Regions from separate parts of the Homo sapiens genome. Here region 2 is linked to region 1. The links are contacts of gene promoters, found by promoter capture Hi-C in blood cells and fetal thymus (Javierre and others, 2016). All regions are on one chromosome and are shown on one strand. The core of a region is centred on a gene start or on the middle of the fragment in contact, and the rest is flanking DNA. Distances in the headings are between cores, read along the strand shown.

Evidence for each region. Contacts are between HindIII fragments. The CHiCAGO score rates a contact against its expected background, and 5 or more counts as called.
Region 2: a contact is called between a fragment that was not itself captured here and the fragment with the promoter of ST7L in region 1, in 1 of 17 cell types (fetal thymus). The highest score is 5.2, in fetal thymus.

What each region holds. Positions count from the first base shown.
Region 1 is chr1:112,617,061-112,621,420 of GRCh38, forward strand. ST7L (suppression of tumorigenicity 7 like) reads right to left here and starts at 2,081. Exons shown (of 15, transcript NM_017744.5): 1 at 1,849-2,081. The coding sequence starts at 2,053. CAPZA1 (capping actin protein of muscle Z-line subunit alpha 1) reads left to right here and starts at 2,772. Exons shown (of 10, transcript NM_006135.3): 1 at 2,772-2,823. The coding sequence starts at 2,785. RefSeq lists enhancers at 2,045-2,144, 2,253-3,452, 2,605-3,054. The HindIII fragment of the contact is 828 bases long and covers 1,577-2,404 here.
Region 2 is chr1:114,712,667-114,717,026 of GRCh38, forward strand. NRAS (NRAS proto-oncogene, GTPase) reads right to left here and starts at 4,105. Exons shown (of 7, transcript NM_002524.5): 1 at 3,992-4,105; 2 at 3,384-3,511; 3 at 1,134-1,312. The coding sequence starts at 3,494. CSDE1 (cold shock domain containing E1) reads right to left here. Exons shown (of 20, transcript NM_001007553.3): 20 at 4,250-4,360. RefSeq lists enhancers at 3,801-3,900, 3,911-4,110. The HindIII fragment of the contact is 2,336 bases long and covers 909-3,244 here.

The DNA of each region.
Region 1 (4,360 bases), core at 831-3,330:
TTATCACTATTTGCAACAAATCAAAATGAGGTAATTCAGCTTGCTTTGGAGAATAAAACTAAAGCACTTATAAGTCATAATTTAGATAGAACTTTTGCAAGTCTGTAAGAATAAAAAGATAAATATGCTTTTACAAAGGAGGTTCAAAACTACTCCATATTTATTTTGGTAGGATACAAAACCACTGTCTCAAATTAGAGGGAAGGAAACAGCATATGTATTTGGTATATCAGCTAGAGAGGCAAAATGGCTCAAAGAGAAAAGCAACAAACAGAAATCTCCCTGAGTTACTGAAATCCTGGAGCAGATTTTTCACTTCAAATAATTATCTCATAAGTACTGTGGGTTTTAGAAAGAAAATAAAAATCTGGCCAGGTAGGATGGCTCACTCCCATAATCTCAGAGTTTTGGGAGGCCAAGGCAGGAGGATCACTGGTAGCCAGAAGTTCAAGACCAGCCTGGGCAAATAAAATAGACCCAGTCTCTACGCAAAATTTAAAACTCAGCCAGTCGTGGTGGTGCACGCCTGCAGTCCCAGCTACTTGGGAGGCTGAGGCCAGAGGATCGCTTAAGCAGAAGAGTTCAAGGCTGCAGTGATCTTGCCACTACACTTCAGCCTGGGTGACAAAGGGAGACTCTGTCTGTCTTTCTCTCTCTCACACACACACACACACACACACACACACACACACACACGAAACGTAAAAAAGAAAAATCTATAGTAATCAACTATTCTCATCTAAATGTTGCATATGGTTAACGTAGAAAAATAAATGACAAGTCAATCAGTAACACTGTGCATAGAAACCACCGTTAAGCACTTCATTCACCTGTTACAGAGATGCCAAATTAGCTCTTCAGTTTAGCTTATTTTAGAGTGCTAGTTATATTTGAACTTGATACCTATCCTCCAAAAAAACCAAAATATTTCCGAACATTAACTCACAGTCTTTCATGTCATCTCTGAACAGGAAAGGGGACATTTGCTGCCTTTTGCTTCAGAAAAATCAACCACCATACTGAATCATGTAATGGAAATACTTATATCTTGTTCTGAGGTTGCTGCTCAGATCTTGAGTGAAATATAATCACATGGTAAGGGGACCTGGGCCCTAAACACTTCATCCTGTCTACAGCTAAAGAATAGTACAGTATATGAGAATCCATCAGGATCATCACTTCTTACATGTGTTCGTATTGTCAGCACAGAATACGTAGCAAGTGTTCTACAGACGTCGAAAGAACTAGCAAACCCACTGTTGTTTGTGGCGCTCTCACTTCCTGTACTATTTTATTACTCAAGATAAGCCTAAAAGAACAGACAAAACTATCACGAAAACGATTTCTTAACAGAACTATTTTAAAACAAGAGAATCCTCAATTAAAATCATGCCATTTTCTTTCTCTGAAATCTTTAAATTACAGATGTGCTCATCTTTGTTGCCTGGATATGAGTTCTTTCAGCTGGGCAGCGGGAGACTCAAAGTAGTGACTTTTAAGGGATCCTACCAGAGGTGGGGGAGCCAATATAAATTACGTATCCTAATCTGAGACACTCTTCTGTCCTAATACCTGAAGCTTATAGCTTGTCAGGTGGCTTTTCCATGGAAAAACGAGGACATAAGAGAGAGGGCGGACCTTAAGAGTTCTACGGAGGAGCCGGTAACGGCAGCAGGCTTGTCAATCAACTGCAAGGTTGCAGCCCAAAAGAAAAAGAACTCACTTGATCGCTCATCATCGACTCCTCAGAGGCCCTCTAGGACTACCGAGAATCTCTTGCCCTTTGGCTCTTGCCCCCGACATCTCTCCTGGCCCCCCGCCCTGCCCCAGGAGGTCTGGTCCTCTCACCCGCTGCCAAATTCTCACACAGCCTCAAAGGGATCCTCAGGGCGTAAAGCAGCCCCAGCCCCGCCACGAACCACAACGAGGCCCCAGTCCCCGCCAGCCCGGCCCGCAGTCGCTCCCTCCAGCCTAGCGTCGGGTTTAGGCCAGGGACAGATGCAGGAGACGCTCCAACAGCTGCGGCTTCACCCACGCCGCCACGGTCCGCCATCTTGCCGCTATCGCAGGCGCCAGGAGCTGGGAGGGGAGAAGGACAGGAAACCGGGAGTCGGGAATCCTGGGATAGTGGCGGACCTGAAGTTGGCCTCTGTGAAGGCTGAGTCCTGGGGAACCGGGACCGAGAAGATTTCGAAGGTGGAGGAGCGTGTCTCAAGATTGGGGCTACCTGTTCTTTCGTGGGGCAGGGAAGGGGCGGACAGCAGCGCCTATTCTGGAGGAACTGGACTGAGATGTGACCCCGAAGTGTTACCGCTTCCAAACGAAATGAGGGTCACCTTTCACACCGCCCCCCCCCCGGGGTTGGAAAAGCCACCGATCGTTCCAGCTGCCGAGCAGCTCTTAAAGCTTTGGATTCGGCTGTCGTGGAGATAACGGGCACCAGAAAAACTTGTAGGAGTAGCAACAGCTATTTGGTCGGATGGAGGCCAGAAGCCAAGAATAATCGAAACACGCTGCCAGCGCCCATTAGATGGATGGGAAATGAGTGTAACTCATTGGGAAAGATATTAGACTTCAAATCACCTAAGGCAAACCCTACTTCCTGGGGCGCGGGCGCGGGCGCTGGCGTTAGGAGACGTCACTCCCGCGCATAACTGACATGGGGCCCTCTTGGTCGGCGTTTCCGGGCGGGTCCTTCCGACGGCCGCCGCGGTGATTCCATCACTCGGCTTTCTTCCCGGCCTGCCTCGCGCCCGTAGCCGGGCTGGGCCAGAACAGCCCAAGATGGCCGACTTCGATGATCGTGTGTCGGATGAGGAGAAGGTAAGGGGTCCGCCTCTCTCTCTTACCTCCTCCCCCGACAGGGAACTGGGGCCCGGCCCGGCTGCGTTGGGAGCCTAGCAGTGTCCCCAGGAAAAAGAAGCTTCTTGGTCCATGCTGACATACGCTCTCCGCAGTCGGGACGCTTCCCTCTTAGGGGGCTTTCCTCTGCCTCACGGTGGCCCCAGTTCCTCGTTCCTCGACTCTCCTTTTCTCTCAGGCCTGAGGCACAGCCCAGGGGCCTCCCTGCAAGGGAACAGACGTTTCCTTTATTGGATCGTGACTGTGGACTTTTTTCTGTAATTTTGCGAGAGGGTGGTGGTTATGTTGCGACATATCAAAAAGCAGTTATTTTACCGCCTTTAGCAGTTGGGGCTCACCCCATCCCCCCATTTGTAGATATAATTGGGGTTAGTTTAGGGCGAGTCACTTCCTGGTCAGGATGGCCTCTTAACTTCCCTTTTGCTCCTCCTTCCTCAGGAAGTGATTTTGCTGTCACGACTCTTCGACAAGGAGAGGTCCCAAATGTTGTCCATCTCCCTACACATGCACTACTTTTCTCCTGTACTGTCGCCTGTCTGATTCGCTATAATAAATCTGTGAGCCTCAGGGCATTTGCTTCAGAATTTGAACACCAGTCTTTCCCTATAGACACATCCCTTTTAACGATAATTTTTGAAAATTTTGTTTCTTGTTAACAAATCTAGAATAGCTGATGGATTTTCTTAACCTCCAGAAAGGTTTTCTGTAACACATAATAAACCTTATGTTAACACGTTCAAGACTGAACAAAGCATCCTGCCTTCTTTGATGCTCCACTGTGGAGTCTTTGATCAGTTGAATTTGTCAGTGTGCATTTTGTATGCTCATTTCTTGAAAAGGGTCTTAAATACAAGAGCACATTCTAAGGTGGAATAACTTTTCTTCTGACAGTTGCACAGTTTCATAACAGTTTGTCAGGCTTTTCAGTAAGTACATGGTTTTAGGGCACGTAGAACTTAGAATGACCTCACAAGGCAACTTATTGGACAAGAATTATGACATTTGTCTCCCACTGTGGCTATTAGAAAATGTGTCCCCTTGAGTGCTCTGTAAATCTACCTGGGTGTTTTTTTCAATAAGAAGTTGGGATGGGAAGGGGACTGTTATGATCCATAAGTCCTCTGTACGGAATAACTTGATATATGTAGATATGGCATGCCATTTTGAAATGTTTAACAAGCCATTGACAACAGCGTTAGATTTTCTCTTATTTGGAAACTGATCTTCATACATGTTTAAGATTTAGGACAAAAACATTTATGTATAAGCCTATGCTGGAAATCGATCTATAATAAATTGTTCTAAGGCAAATAGTTACTATTCAAATAAAATTAAGCAAAAATCCTGTTACAATACAACTAAACAATTTTTTTTTTTTTTTGAGACGGAGTCTCGCTCGGCTCACTGCAACTTCCGCCTCCCTGGTTCAAATTATTCTCCTGCCTCAGCTTCCCGAGTAGCTGGGATTACAGGCACCCGCCACCAAGTCCAGCTAATT
Region 2 (4,360 bases), core at 827-3,326, 2.1 Mb after region 1:
GGATAGAAAATAAGCCAAGACTCAAGCCTTTAGGCAGAACACTTAAGTAGCATTTACTGTGTGCCAGGCACTATTCTGAGTGATTTGCGTATTTATTAAAACTGTAATCTTCACAACTCTATGAGGTAGGTATTATTATTTCCATATTATAGGTTAGGAAAGCCACATAGCCCCTGAGTCACGTCGCTAATAAACAGAGCTAGGTTTCAATCCAGGCAGAGTTCTCATTCTTAACCATTATATTATTCTGTTTAAGAACACTGTGCTAAGAAAAAGGAGCTTTGGGTTTTTGGTCCTGGCTCTGCTACTAATAACAATCCTGACTCCAAAACCTAACAAACGACATTCTGAACTCTGTTTCTGATTCTGCAAAATAAGAATATTGTACTAGAATTTTTATGGTCCAATCTAGCTTTGAAACTTTATGGTTCTATGGACAAAGTCTATCTTTATGTTCCCTTGCTTTGTTTTCATCTTTATGGACTTCCTATTTGCTTACTCCTATCATTTTATTTTTTATTTTTTTTGGAGACAGAATCTTGCTCTGTTGATTAGGCTGGAGTGCAGCAGTGCAGTGGAGTGAGCATGCCTCGACCTCCTGAGCTCACGTGATCCTCCCACCTCTGCCTCCCGAGTAGCTGCCACCATGTGTGACTAATTTTTTTATTTTTATTTTTGTAGAGACAGGGTCTTGCTCTGTTGCCCAGGCTGGTCTCCAACTCCTGGGCTGAAAGTGATCCTCCCGCCTTGGCCTCCCAAAGCACTGACATTCCAGGTGTGAGCCACTGTGCCTGGCCTATCTTTTCCATTACATACTGAAAGATGTTTCTTGGAGATGTTTTCCTCTCTGAAATTCCTTCGTGATCTCTAATTACAACAACTCTGGTTCCAAGTCATTCCCAGTAGCAAGCTTCACTTATGTATTATCAAACTTTATAGTAACAGTATATTATGTAAAATAAATTCCAGTATTAACTTTCAGTAATTACCCTAGATTCTCAATGTCAAACAACCTAAAACCAACTCTTCCCATAATTAAAAAGCTCTATCTTCCCTAGTGTGGTAACCTCATTTCCCCATAAAGATTCAGAACACAAAGATCATCCTTTCAGAGAAAATAATGCTCCTAGTACCTGTAGAGGTTAATATCCGCAAATGACTTGCTATTATTGATGGCAAATACACAGAGGAAGCCTTCGCCTGTCCTCATGTATTGGTCTCTCATGGCACTGTACTCTTCTTGTCCAGCTGTATCCAGTATGTCCAACAAACAGGTTTCACCATCTATAACCACTTGTTTTCTGTAAGAATCCTGGGGGTGTGGAGGGTAAGGGGGCAGGGAGGGAGGGAAGTTCAATTTTTATTAAAAACCACAGGGAATGCAATGCTATTGCCAAGGTTAAATAAGCATCTAACTATTCAAGCCCATTTCTGCCTATCTGGTTTGTCCCTCAAATTGCTAATATATAATCACAAACAAAAAGTATCCAATATCACCCTACATAAAAGAAAACCCACCAAATTCTATATGCCTGCAGAAAAGAAATATGGTCACTGTGTTCCTGGAAAAGATTAAGAAAACACAGTAACTCAAATGACAACTCTACTGCAGCCAGGAGGCTACAGATTAAGTACCCAGTGTATTTCACTAAGCTATGAACTGGACTGTTTTATTTGTGCTGTTTATTTTACTTAAAGAAATCTAAACATACCTCCACCAATTATAACCTGGCCCTATATACATCATTTGTGTTTATGACTAAATATACAAATACCTTTGTTTCAGAGAAGGTTTTTTTTTTATCATGACAGATGTACCTTTGGGAAATATTCCTGAATCAAATTCTTAAAGGTTCCAAACAAGGTATAGTTATGTTTAATTTCTCAGGAAGACAAACATGCATAGATCATATAAAAAATACTTTCATTTTGGTTTTATGGCAACAGGACTTTTACTTGTATTTTAATGTCATCACACTTGGAGAACTCTCTGGAGTACTGGAAGTGCTCTATACTGTTATCTGGGTGGTAGCTACATGACTATATAGAAACGCAAAAAGCACTGGGCTGTAGACATAAAATTTATGTATTTTACTTATGTAAATTGCTCAATAAATCAAACATTTAAAAATATTTAATTAAAATATTAAACATTTCATGTAAAATATTAAAGCTGTTAAGCTCAAAATAAAGATTTTGCCAAGGGTTAGCAACCAATTTTTTATAGTGGCTACATTAGAGTTAGTTTTCATCAATTAAACACGAGTAGCCAGATGGTAGGGAGGCCAGGTGTTGATTAAAATAATCTCTAAAGTTAGGCATTTCTAAACTGAACAAAATTACAAAACCCTTTATTTATTTATCTATTTATTTATTTTTTGAGACGAAGTCTCGCTCTGTTGCCCAGGCTGGAGGTCTGTGGTGTGATCTCGGCTCACTGCACCCTCTGCCTCTGGTTCAAGCGATTCTCCTGCCTCAGCCTCCTGAGTAGCTGGGATTACAGGTGCCTGCCACCACACCCAGCTAATTTTTGTATTTTTAGTAGAGACGGGGTTTCACCATGTTGATCAGGCTGGTCTTGAACTCCTGACCTTGTGATCCGCCTGCCTCAGCCTCCCAAAGTGCTGGGATTACAGGCGTGAGCCACCGTGTCCGGCAAAACCCTTTATTTAAAGAGCCTTAGGTGCCACTTACTGAAGACAATCTGTACCATGAACTCTCATAATAACAATAGAATCCCTAAGTACTATTACATAGTGCTTTACCATTCATAAATAACTTAAATATATTATTTAACTTTCCATAACATCCCTGTGTGGTAGGCAGGACAAGTTTATGGTAATTTAAAACATGAGGAAAATGAGGTTGGGAGAGATTCAGTTGCTCAATATCACACAACTAAATAAACTGCAAACAGGGACCAAAATCCTAGGCATAAAGACTAAAAATCTCAAGTTCTTGCTACTCCAATCATCTGGTCTCAGCTGCTTCAACTAGCTAATAAATAAATATTGAAGAACACTCATCTCTGAATCCTTTATCTCCATCCTATTATCTCCCATACAATCAGACAGTCTCGCTACTATGGCCTGTGTTTCTCATGTAATAGAGCTGTTATATATGAAGAAACTCATGAATGAACTCAACACTGAGTTTGCAATAGTTTACAGAACTGTTAAAAACTGGACAGGTTTTAGAAACTTCAGCAGCTAATAAAAATGAACTGTTCTCTATAAACACGTTAAGCTTATTGCATAACTGAATGTATACCCAAAATAACTTTTTACTTTCTCTCCTCTTATTCCTTTAATACAGAATATGGGTAAAGATGATCCGACAAGTGAGAGACAGGATCAGGTCAGCGGGCTACCACTGGGCCTCACCTCTATGGTGGGATCATATTCATCTACAAAGTGGTTCTGGATTAGCTGGATTGTCAGTGCGCTTTTCCCAACACCACCTGCTCCAACCACCACCAGTTTGTACTCAGTCATTTCACACCAGCAAGAACCTGTTGGAAACCAGTAATCAGGGTTAATTGGCGAGCCACATCTACAGTACTTTAAAGCTTTCTATAATCAATGGAAATGAAAACCCTAGTGTGACCTTCCATTTGGTTCTTAAAGTGACTAGAGAACGCAAAAACACCGGATTAATATCGGCCTCACACTTCTGGAGTAGTTTTCTAGCAACCCCCATCCTTAGCTATTTTTCAACAGTCCTTGGGCCCCGCCCTCAGCCTAAGCAATGGAAATCCCCCTTCCTATTACTCCCCGAAGGCTTCTCAGCTCTAGCAGGAAGCCTCCAGGCCGCAACTCCTTCCCATTCTCCCTTCTGTCTCCAAAGATCTCCCCACGTAGGCACCAAATGGAAGGACCCCCGCCCAAGGCCTTTGTCTCCAGCTGATAGATTCTGCTCCATTTCTGGCATCAGTGAAACGCCTGAACATTCCACAGCCCAAAGCCGAACACTATGCATGAGATAAACTTACCTCAAGCTCCACTGCCTCTGCTTTGGACAGATTTAGGACCACAGCCGGGAAAAATGTTGGAGACCCCGGAACCGCCATGAACAGCCCCCACCAAGGAGCGGCACTTCCGGCCCCGCCCGCTACGTAATCAGTCGGCGCCCCAGGCGCCTGAGTCCCCGCCCCGGCCACGTGGGCCTCCGAACCACGAGTCATGCGGCAGGCCGCACCCAGACCCGCCCCTCCCACACGGGACGTTTCAATAATGAAAGCGCTAGGTGCTAGTGTCTCAAAAATCAGTAAAACTTTATTCGCTTCCATTCTTTCGCCATTAACAGAAAACTGGAGAAAGCAAAAATGTTTCGTGTTTACAAAGATAAACGGCCTCTTTAC